2 separate regions of the Homo sapiens genome follow, and region 2 is linked to region 1. The links are contacts of gene promoters, found by promoter capture Hi-C in human tissues and cell types (Jung and others, 2019). All regions are on one chromosome and are shown on one strand. Each heading gives the region's core, a stretch centred on a gene start or on the middle of the fragment in contact. The rest is flanking DNA. Distances are from core to core; before and after follow the strand shown. Region 1 holds the start of RAX (retina and anterior neural fold homeobox). Region 2 overlaps CPLX4 (complexin 4).

Region 1 (5,624 bases), core at 3,125-5,624:
TATATTATTCTTGTTACCTTTGACTCCCAAATTTTCTTGCTTTAATTTATCTGCTGGTTCTCTTATGGCCACTGGAGAATTAATGGTGCATGTTAATACACATACCGTGTTGGGGGTAGCACACATGGTGGGCAGAAGGAAGCATTCCTGAGTAAAACACCTAGGTTCAGATCCTGGCTCTACTTGAAACCAGCTGTGTGACCTTGGACATGCTACAGAACCTCTCTGTATTTCAGTTTCCTCATCTGTAAAGTAGGGATAATAATAGTGTCTACTGGCCAGGTGCGGTGGCTCAAGCCTGTAATCCCAGCATTTTTGGAGGTTAAGGCAGGAACATTGCTTGAGCCCAGGAGTTAAAGACCAGCCTGGGCAACATGGCGAAAACCCATCTCTACAAAAAAATACAAAAATTAGCTGGATGTGATGGCCTGCACCTGTAGTCCCAGCTTTGCAGGAAGCTGAGGTGGGAGGATACTTGAGCCCAAGAGGTTGAGGCTGCAGTGAGCTGTGATCATGTTACTGCACTCCAGCCTGGGCAACAGAGCCAGACTCTGTCTCTAATAATAATAATAATAGCAGCATCTACATCATAGGATTATCGTAAGAACTAAATTGGGCAATTCATGTAAAATAATACTCAAAAGCTTATGGCATATACCCACTGACATGTACTTAGCATTCAATAAATAGTAGCTCTTGTATGTATTCTTAACTCTTGACAACTGAATTTGTTGAACTTCAGTGTGTGTGTATGGTGTGTGTGCGTGTTTAGTGATTATATGAGTTGTGTTTTGCTCTGGCTAAAACTAAAAGTAAGTTGCCTTTCTTGCACGTGTATCAGCTAGTGGGAGGAGGAGGTCCTCGAATATGGCGTGACACAGGGGGAGTTATTCCAGGATTAAAATACATCTGCTATGGGGAAAATCTACATGCAGACAATCAAGTTTATTTGATACACTTTACGAATTGATATATCATAGGCCTTTCCACAGACATTTTCACCCTAATGTAAAACATCGCTGAGAGGTGAAATGACTAGAGACTGTGGCTGAATGTCCTTAATTCACCGCTCTCCCTCTCCTTCTCCGTCCAGTGCACAGGGATATGCATGTCTCCCCCGTGTTGTAGGTGAGACTGTTCATCCAGAATACTTCCAGAAATTGGACCTTCTCCATACAGCCACGATCAAGGAGTCGCTTTATACTACAACTTCCTCACGTTTGGAAATGTGTGTCTCCCAACCATCCGAAGTTTAATGGGGCTTTAGCTGTGTCTAAGGTTGGCCGCAGGTGGGGGATGGAAGGAGGGGTTTTCTTTGATCCATCTAATGAATTAATGAATTAATCAGAGGTGGGGTTCAGAAGCCAGGCTCCTTACTGTTGCTGAAGCAGGGCTGATTATGAGCTAGCCTAACTGCTGGAAAAATGCAGCTTCATGCTAGAAGAATTAGGGACATGGCCCAGTCCATTCATCTTCCCTAATCGAGTTCTTGGGAAATACACACGTAGATTAGCCCCTAACAATGACCCCCGGCTGATTGCTTGGAGTACCCTCCACCGTGCCCACAATGGTACTGACTAGCTCTTTATGTCCTGCACAAAGGAAGCCCCAACTCCCCCTTGTCCTCCTCTGCCCTGTCTCCCCCACCCCCATCACCACCACCCCTGCCCTCGCCAGTGGCTGTTGAAGTCTTTTCTGCTTTTTTCCCCAGACTCTGAAACAAACAGTAAATAAAAGCTAACCTCACCTGGACTTATTAGGAGGAGCTGGGCAGTTCCAGAGGAATTAACTTTGGAAAACAAGGCCATAAACCCCTTAGCAGCGTGTGGGCAGGAGCTTAAGGAAACGCTGCCAATCTTTGTTTAGCGGTGATTATCGAGATCAATTTAATATTGGGGAAGTTTGCATAAAAAGCATTCTCGGTCAGAGGGGGAACAACAAATACCAATTAATTATCCCCACAGCTGCCCTCTGATCACCACCACCTCAGCACGTCAGCCACCTGGTCTATGTCACTGGCAGTCAGACCTTTTCGGGTGCCACCAGGCCATTTGTGGGCCCTGGAAAGGTGGAGGAGGGGCGGAGGAGGAGGCAAAACCTGGTCTGTCAGGGGACTTTCCAGAGGGTTTGTTAATTTGCCCTGGATGCCGGTACCCAAAGCCCACTCTCTATAGGCTCTGACTTTATTTCTTCTGGGAGCTAAACTGCTTCTACCTCCGCCTCTTAGATGCAGAATCCAGTCTCAGGGAAGGATTAAAGACAGACTGCAGGCTAAGATGGGCTTTGATTCTTTTCAAAAAGATCACACACTACAATAATAATTACAAATGAGCTGCAGGCAGAAAACACTGGACAAGGAGTCAGTGGCCTGAGTTCTAGTCCTGACCCTTCCACTTAATAGCTGTATCACTTTGAGCCTCAGTTTCCTCTTCTGTAAAATGGGGACCAATATGTCTGTCCTGCTCACCTCACAAGGTTGTGAAGATCAGATGACATGAAGAATGTGAGAAGATTCTGAAACCTACAAAGTGACATGTCGAGAGAATTGCTTGAGCCCAGGAGTTCCAGGCTGCAGTGAGCCACCATCATGCCACTGCACTCCAGCCTGGGCAACAGAGAGGGACCCTGTCTCTAAAATAAACAGACAAATAAATAATAAGTAAATAAAGTAATATGTGAACACTGTAAAGTGCTATTAACTTTCATTAATTTTAGCTTTTTTCTTAAAAGATAATTTCTGACTTGAATTAGTTCAATTTCTATCTCCTGCAGTCACATGCTTGCCCTTATTTTAGTTTGCCATTATATAGTTTTATTAAAAGTAGATATGCCCATCATGGGGAATTAACCATTGAATGATCCTTAAGAAATTGACTTGTCCTCCGCAAACATCCTTCTAACACCAATTTAAAGGTTGGGGATCTGAGGATGTGTGTTTTCCCTCTTCCTTTGTCTTGTCTTCCAGACTGGACGTTAAACTCCACCAGGCCAACGGCCCTGGCCTTTCCCAATTTGTTTGATGCCCACGACGTGGCCCTCGACGGTTGCCTTGCCCTCTAAAGGGACGCAGCAAACGCTTGTCTGAACGCAAGCGGGATAAAGAAGACACCCCTGCTGTGGAGATCAGAGCGCCTACTGAAAAGGAGATTTTAGGGATATTGTCCTCTAGGTCCTTGAGCTTTTATAGGAAAGCATTTTAATTCACGGTTCAGGCCACCAGTTCAGGGAAGGCCAAGCGCTCGCCTCGGGTCTCGCCTCAGATTTGAGGGGTGAGACGTTCACAGCGCCATTGTCCATCCGCGCTGCTGGAGGTGAAACACACTCACCCTATCCAATCATCTTTCCAAGTGGCCGATCAGTCACTGTGGGCCACGGAAGCCTCGAGGGGGTCCAAAGGAGAAAGAACTGCAAGCCAATTACTCCTGAACCCTCGGGGAGGCGAGAGGCCTCTTCCCCGGGAGAAGGTCCTTCCCCAGCCAGCTCTGGGCCATCTCCTTGGCCCGGAGTGTTGGAGGGAGGCGGGAGTGCGACACCGCTGCTCATCAGTAAAGGAGCCCGCCCTCCCCGCAGGACAAGGGGCGGGAGCGAGGAACTCCAGGTGGGTCTCCTGCGGGACCTGAGCCCGGCAGCACATCCGACTCGGGGCTCCCAGTCTCCTGCTGGGCGATCGGGCGCTAGAGGTCACCGGACTTGCGGACATAAATGGCCCTGGGGTGGGCGCTGCGGGGAAGGAGGGAGGCTGCCGGCGCTCAAGTCCGAGGGGACTGGGAGGAGTTACAACAGATATAGACGGACAAACTAAACGCGAGGTCCGGGACTTCGTACAACCCAGCCAAGAAAGGAGTGGGTCCCGAAAAGGGAGCCAGCGAGGGGAAATTCAAACTGCGACGAGTGCGGGGCTGGGAAGCCTTCGGCTGGGTCTCGGCGCTTCCAGGGGGCACAGGCCAGGGTGGCGGCCCCGCGGAGGTGAGCCAGAGGGGGCTAGAGGGGCGAGTCTGAAGCTGGGGAGGGGTGCGTCCAAGGAGGGAGGTGACCCCCAGGGGGTAGTCTGAAGTGAGAGGGTAAGCCCGAAGTAGAGGGAGACAAACGCAAGGGGAGAGATGAGCCCAAGGGCGTCGGCCCCACTGAGGCAGGACTAGGGGTGCGCCGCGACCAGGTTCCCGAGCCCATCAGGCATCCCGCCGCGGATCCCCGGAGTGTGTTTGTAAAGCTTAAAACGGATCAAGAGGTGGAAGGGGAATATTCCTAGTGCCGGCCCAGGGGTGGCCACTAGAGGACCCTGTGGCTGGGCCGGGTGAGGACACGCCCCTCTGTGGAGGGAGGGGCCGAGAGAAGGGGCTGGGTCCAGGGCGAGAGGGGAGGAGCCGAGGGCCAGTTGGCTCCCCGCCTTTAGCGCCGAGAGCCCCAGCTACCCCGAGCCCGAACTTCCGACTTCTGGGACTAAGGCGGCAGCGGGCTGAGCGCTCGGCCACCCCCAGCGTGCGCAGCCCGGGCGGGCTTCGCCCGCGGAGCTTGACCTAGGGTCGGGACCCGTCGGGTTGCACCGCCGCACTCGGGAAGACCCGGCTTCGAGCCTCTCCTCTCCGTCTCCAAAGCGCCCTCCCGCCTCCCGGCGCTCCCCATGCACCTGCCGGGCTGCGCGCCAGCCATGGCCGACGGGAGCTTCTCGCTTGCCGGCCACCTGCTCCGCAGCCCGGGCGGGAGCACCTCGCGACTTCACAGCATCGAGGCCATCCTGGGGTTTACCAAGGACGACGGGATCCTCGGCACCTTCCCGGCGGAGCGGGGCGCCCGGGGCGCGAAGGAGCGGGATAGGAGGCTGGGCGCGCGGCCCGCCTGCCCCAAGGCGCCCGAGGAAGGCTCCGAGCCCTCCCCGCCGCCAGCCCCGGCGCCCGCCCCCGAGTACGAAGGTGAGTGCGCACCCCTGGCTGTGCGAGGCCGTTCGGGCGCCCGAGCTTAGGAGTTGGCCAGACGAGAGCGCCCCTTCCTTAACTTTTATTAAGGCAACTGGGCGCGGGGTTGGGGACCGTCTATGGCGGGAGCTTCCAATTTGCATTCAGAGAAAGCTTAGGACCCATCGCCGCCCTCACCACGGACCTCCCCGGGCCATCTCGGAGCCCGCAGGCGGGCTGGCCAGTGCCCACAGCGAGGCGGGGTCGGCCCAAGGGTGTTTTGGGGAGTGCATCTGACCCTCCCGGGCCTCGTCGCCCCAGCCCCTCGACCCTACTGCCCCAAGGAGCCCGGGGAGGCACGGCCGAGCCCAGGGCTGCCCGTCGGGCCAGCCACCGGCGAAGCGAAACTGTCAGAGGAGGAACAGCCCAAGAAAAAGCATCGGCGGAACCGCACGACTTTCACCACGTACCAGCTGCATGAGCTGGAGCGCGCGTTCGAGAAGTCCCACTACCCGGACGTGTACAGCCGCGAGGAGCTGGCCGGCAAGGTCAACCTACCAGAGGTCCGGGTCCAGGTAAAGCGCCCAGGTTGAGGAACTGGGATCTGGGAGGGCCCGAGGCCCAAATTGCAGCCAATGCTTCTCGGAATTCACGGGTGTCCATGCATTTATTACTGTCCTTCCTCGACTTGGCATGCCCAGAGTCTCAAGGGAGAGGCACAGATCTTCGATG
Region 2 (5,624 bases), core at 820-3,319, 36 kb before region 1:
TTATGCATCTCAGCACTGGCTGAGGGTGACTGCTGTAGGCTGTGGTCGAGTGAGTCGTTGGTCTCCTGGTGGGAAGGGAATGCGTTGACATGTTGTGGAACACGTCTTGGAGGTACTATTCCAGGGCTTGCATCCAGTAGTGACAGAGGGCCCATCACTTTGCTACTCTGACTCATACCACCTGACTCCACCTTCACTACCTGTCTACCTGACTAAATGACTCCACCTTCACCTTCTGAGCTGGTTATTCAATTTCATATTCCAAAGATGCGCCATCCCTTAAAGAACATCTTCCATCTGGAGAAGCCAAAGTAAAAGATCCCTCCAAAGGGCATGATCCCAAGTATGAGAGCCATCTCCAAGTCTGGGTGGTCTAGAAAGTGCTGCTAAACCAATTCCTTCCATGGATCCCCAGCAGATCCCAGAAAAAGCTGATTTTAGAAACTACAAGCACTAGACAAGGGAGAAGCCACTGTCTATGCAAGGTCACTGATGAAATCACCAAAGACTTAAACATGGTAGAGGTTGATCCCTAAGGTGCCCAAGGAACCTGGGTTCTGTTCTTAATAAGGGAAGGAAAACCCACAATAAAATGTAAGCTCATTTCATTCACAACCAATGAACTTGGAAAAGAATGCCTTGCTTTTCCTACCCCCAGCCCCGTTCAGGTTTAATAACTTTTCCTCACTGTGCTTGCATTTTGGAAGAGTGAAGCACTTCTAAACACTGTCCTTTCCACTTTCATTGTCTGGTGAATTTCCTGAAACTCCCTGGATGTCATTGGCTCACTTTAGCAATGTGGTCTCGCCCTAGGCAGGAAGATTGAGTCGGATTCATGCTACTGCGCTGAAGCCCCTGGCCTCTGCTCTTGGGCCATCTGATTAAAGCATCATCAACTTGTTGGGATGAAGCAGAAATTTCACACACACACACACACACACACACACACACACACACACACACACGATTGGCTGGGTGTGCATCGTCCAGAATGTAGGGCTTTTTACAGATTTATTTTTGGCAACTGTTATTCTTCTGTAGGGATCTAGGGAGAATTGGGGTTCCGTTGTAGCTCTGTGATGCAATATCACATGGTTTTTAAAAATATCTGAGTCTCTTAATTTATGCAGCAGCAATAGAAAAAAAAATCTGAGCCTCAGTATCCTCATCTATAAAATGAGGGCTGAAGTACCTAACTTCATAGGATCTTTGTCTGAGATAATGTAATATAAAGGACCTAGTACAACGCCTGACAATAGAGCTCTTATTATTGACATTATGATCTCTGGGCACAAAAGTCTTATTTCCTGATAATAACAACCAGGGGTCTTGAGGACCGCCAGTCCTTAGGTGTGTAATCAATGCAACAATGGAGGTTCCTGAGCCTCAAGGCCCCAAGCCTTTTATCTGTTTCTCCACTAATGGTAAATCAGCAGTCTTGCTGACTTCCAGATCTTCAGGGGTGAACACCCTTAGGCTTAGCAGTAAGGTTTAAGTACTCTTCCAAGAAAAATAATTCTTAAATCTCTGTGCCAGGGTATCTTTTGAAACAAGAGCCTTTCCAACAGAAACTATGGAAAGAGGAAAAAATGATAGCCATGAAATGCACAAATCCAGGTCCTCTCTGGAGAATGATTGTGGCTATACCTGCATAGGCTACTGCTCTCTAAAGCCAGCTAGGGGGAGGGACCGACATGAAGGATGTTGATAAATAACAGTAGAGCCCACCAGTGTCTTTCATTGCATGGCTTACTGATGTTCATATAGCCCCTTTTCTACAGCTGTTTCAAATGCATAATGCATTTGAGACCCCACCTGATTTTCTCATAGACCATGAAAGAGACCATAAAGCTCATCTAATAATCTCATACCACTGCGTCATTTTACACCTGAGATAACTGCAGCCCAGGAGGGTTAAGTAGCTTTGCAATAAGCCACATCTCCTGTGACAGACTTAGGACTGGAACTCAGGCCCCACAACCATGAAAAAGAGCAGCTTGTTCACAAAAGGACTTCAACAGGGCTCCTCCTTTCAAGGCATTTGTTCTTTCTACTCTTTTTTTCTTTTTCTTTTTTTTTTTTTTTTTTTTGACACAGAGTCTCACTCTGTCACCCAGGCTGGAGTGCAGTGGCATGATCTCCCCTCACTGCAAGCTCTGCCTCCTGGGTTCACCCCATTCTCCTGCCTCAGTCTCCCGAGTAGCTGGGACTACAGGCGCCCACCACCACTCCTGGCTAATTTTTTGTATTTTTAGTAGACACGGGGTTTCACCGTGTTAACCAGGATGGTCTCGATCTCCTGACCTTGTGATCCGCCCACCTCGGCCTCCCTAAGTGCTGGGATTATAGGCGTGAGCCACTGCGCCCGGCCTCTTTCTACTCTTAATATTTTGAGCTGTTCCCCAAAATTTTAGGGCAGTTTTGAATTCCACGTGGCTTAAAAAAATGGGAGCATATTATTTCTCCTGTGTTGTCTAACGGTTTGACCCTAGATCTGCAAGTAGCTGTCTAAATTCCAAATACAATCCAAACAAACAGATAAGAATTTCACTTGAGAACATTGTACACACCATCATTCATTGCAGTTTACTTCCAGGTGGGGACCCCCTCCTCCAAGGGCGTTTTTATATTTGGTTGCATTTGTAACAATGGATTCTACACACAATGTTTCAAAACCGTGCCTATGGTATGGAAGATACTACAAATACCAATAATACAATTGCCTGCTTTTTGTAAAGCACATGGAAATTCTAATCCCGTGTAGCTAGCTATAAAAATAGCACCTAATAAAACTATATGATAAGAAAAATCGGCTACTCTGGGCAGACTGCCCTGCTCTGCAAGGAGCAGTTTAAAAACTAAAATTTAAAAGTTTAAAAAATCAGCTGGATCGTATTCCACTTAGTCCAGTTATCACCAGCTGTGGCTAACTTCCCCTACCCCAGTGCAACACTTTGCGCTTGCAAACCAGCCCCACCCTTGGGCGCCTCCTCTGCCTCCCGCGCTGTCACTTGTCGCACGTTACCCTCCCGCCCGCGTCCCCGCACTGACGAGGCTCTGGGTACAGGGACCCTTCGATGGCCCATGTGGCGAAAAAGAGGCTGCGGGGGACAGACACGTTTCCCAGGCTAACGTCTGCCCAGGCTATGCAGAACAGCCGCTCCCGTCCAAGCCAGATCCTGGCTGGAGCAAGGAGGGCGCAGCGGTCGCCAGCGCGGGCCCCGAATCCTCGACGCCGGCGCCCCCTGGTGTTCCTAGCGCCGCGGCCACTGGCACCCGCGGGAGGCGGAACCCGGGCTGCGGGTGGTGGCAGGACCAGGGAGGGGCAGAAACCAATTTCTAGAGGTGACTTAAAAAAAAAAAAAAAAAAAGTCTTGATAGGTCATTGGATGGGATGGGGGGGAAAACAAAACAACAACAAAGAAAGAAAGAAAAGGAAAAAAAAAAAGCCTTACTATTTTGTTATTAAGGACCAGATCGTGCGTTTTCTATCCTCCCATGGCATAACGGGAGAGGGAGCTCGCAAACAGCCGAGTTTCCGCTGTCTCCGCAGTGACCAGGCTGCAGAGAGATTCTGAAACGACAGCAATCGAGGGCGGGCTGAAGGAATTGGAATCTTCGGCCTTGAGAGATGACTGAATAAATGAAGCTTATGGGGGGCAGAATCATGCCCCAGGCCTCCAGTGCCATGCTTTTTATTCTAATACTGAATTCAGCCAACTTACCCAGTGGCTTAGCTGCTGGTTGTTATTGAACTGTAGGTACCTAAAGTCTGTCTCTGATTACGCAGAGGAAACTCCGTAATGGAACCTTTAGAAAGCCATCCTTAGAGAGAGGCCGGACGCGGTGGCTCACGCCTGTAATCCCAGCACATTGAGAGGCCGAGGCGGGCGGATCACCTGAGGTCAAGAGTTCAAAACCAGCCTGGCCAACATGGTGAAACCCCGTCTCTACTACAAATACAAAAAAAAAAAAATTAGCCGGGCAAAAAAAATTAGCCGGCCATGGTGGCGGACCCCTGTAATCCCAGCTACCCAGGAGGCTAAGGCAGGGGAATTGCTGGAACCCGGGATGCAGAGGCTGCAGTGAGCCGAGATTGGGCCACTGCACTCCAGCCTGGGCGACAGAGCAAGACTCCATTTCAAAAAAAAAAAAAAAATCAGAAAAACACAGTGGGGATGCGAGGTGTAGGGTTTTGTCTCCTAGATGCTTCATTAAGGAGCAAGGAGACCCTGGAAGGCCAGACAGTGCCCATCTGGGTCACTAAGAGATGTGATTGACAAGCCCAAGGCATGGTGCTCTGTCCAAAGAACTGGAGGGAAGGAGAGGAGAGGCAGGCCTGCCAGTGCTGGCTCTTACTGAGGCCAGGGGAGGGCTGACCGAGGGCTGAACCAAAGGAACTGCTGTATTCGGAGGGAAACAGAGCAACAGATTCCCAAGTCCTTATAAGTCCCCTCTTTGGGGCTTGGCTTCCAAGGTCATCTGAGGAACATGCCAACCATCACTTCCCTCCAACCTTCTAAGTTCTTTTCCTAGAACAGGTTCAGGTTCCTGGATGACCACAGTACTTTGGCTCCTCGACACCAGTGTCTGAGTGCTGTTTCTCTTTTCAATAGACTTATTTTTTTACATCCGGAAAAGCACATACCATATGTGTGCACTCAATACATAACCATAAGGATCATGTAAATGTAGGGACGTTCCGAAGGTCACAAAGCTTGCTGTGACAAATGGAGACTCAAGCCTCCTTACTCTTCATCCAGGACTTTTTCGTGCCCCCTTCTCCTCATATCCCTCTAAACTGGGCATCAGATTCCTGGTGGTAGACTTTAGAACTGAACAGACTGTCTGACAAAGAAAACGGCACAAGACAGAAAGCAGGGGTCACTGGGACTCTAGTGGGTTCCTAATAACCGTCCCCTCCCTGCCAGGTTTGCAGAATACTTAACCTGTGCCATCTTCTAAAGCCCATATTGGGTAAGCATTCATAGTAATAGTATTAACAGCCCACAGGGAATTGGACGAATTTAACATGTCCTCCAGCTAATGAGGGATGACCCCCTGGGTGCCTCATTCACAATTCCCCAGGGTCACCACCACAGCGGTTACATAACAGCAGGATTCAGTTCTAGACCCTTCCCCTGACCAAGGCCCGACGGGGAGCAGATTTGAGAAAATGTCTTCCCGGGAGCTGTCAGGTCTAATGAGGATAACTATGTCACATTTTGGAATTAGAACTGTATTTTCTAAAGAAATTATTTGGCTGGTGTTTCCTCTGAAAAAGAGTTTCACTCTATTGCTGACAGGGAAAAGCAAATGTAGACTCTTTGAAAAGGAGCAACATAAGCCATAGCCCTCTAGATAAACAATAAAAGGTCTTGGGTCTCAAGTTTATTAATTGTTAGTGACAATACTATTTGCTATACCAATGTCTTTTGGTGACCATTGTTAATTTTGGTAATCAGATAAGTAATTAAATAAGGGCAGTAATCAAATTGCAGTAATCTGCAGTAAGTATGTATATGTATATGTATCTATACCAGTCATTATAATGTTCGTGTACACATATCCAGATTATGTCGATTTCCTCTAGTTGTCAAATTATAGGTCATCAGAGGACTTAA

The links. The method cuts DNA at HindIII sites, captures the fragments that hold promoters and counts their contacts. A contact is called where the count stands out against the background at its distance.
Region 2: a fragment that was not itself captured here is called in contact with the fragment with the promoter of RAX in region 1 in 3 of the 25 tissues and cell types used here (H1 embryonic stem cells, lymphoblastoid cells and mesendoderm cells).

The regions. Positions count from the first base shown.
Region 1 is chr18:59,272,204-59,277,827 of GRCh38, reverse strand. RAX (retina and anterior neural fold homeobox) reads left to right here and starts at 4,374. Exons shown (of 3, transcript NM_013435.3): 1 at 4,374-4,910; 2 at 5,214-5,467. The coding sequence starts at 4,622. The HindIII fragment of the contact is 4,384 bases long and covers 255-4,638 here.
Region 2 is chr18:59,306,289-59,311,912 of GRCh38, reverse strand. All of the region lies in intron 2 of CPLX4 (complexin 4), which reads left to right. Among named protein-coding and RNA genes, the nearest start is that of CPLX4, 9.5 kb to the left of the region's middle. RefSeq lists silencers at 1-156, 2,953-3,012, 3,053-3,102, 3,153-3,222. The HindIII fragment of the contact is 4,229 bases long and covers 1-4,183 here.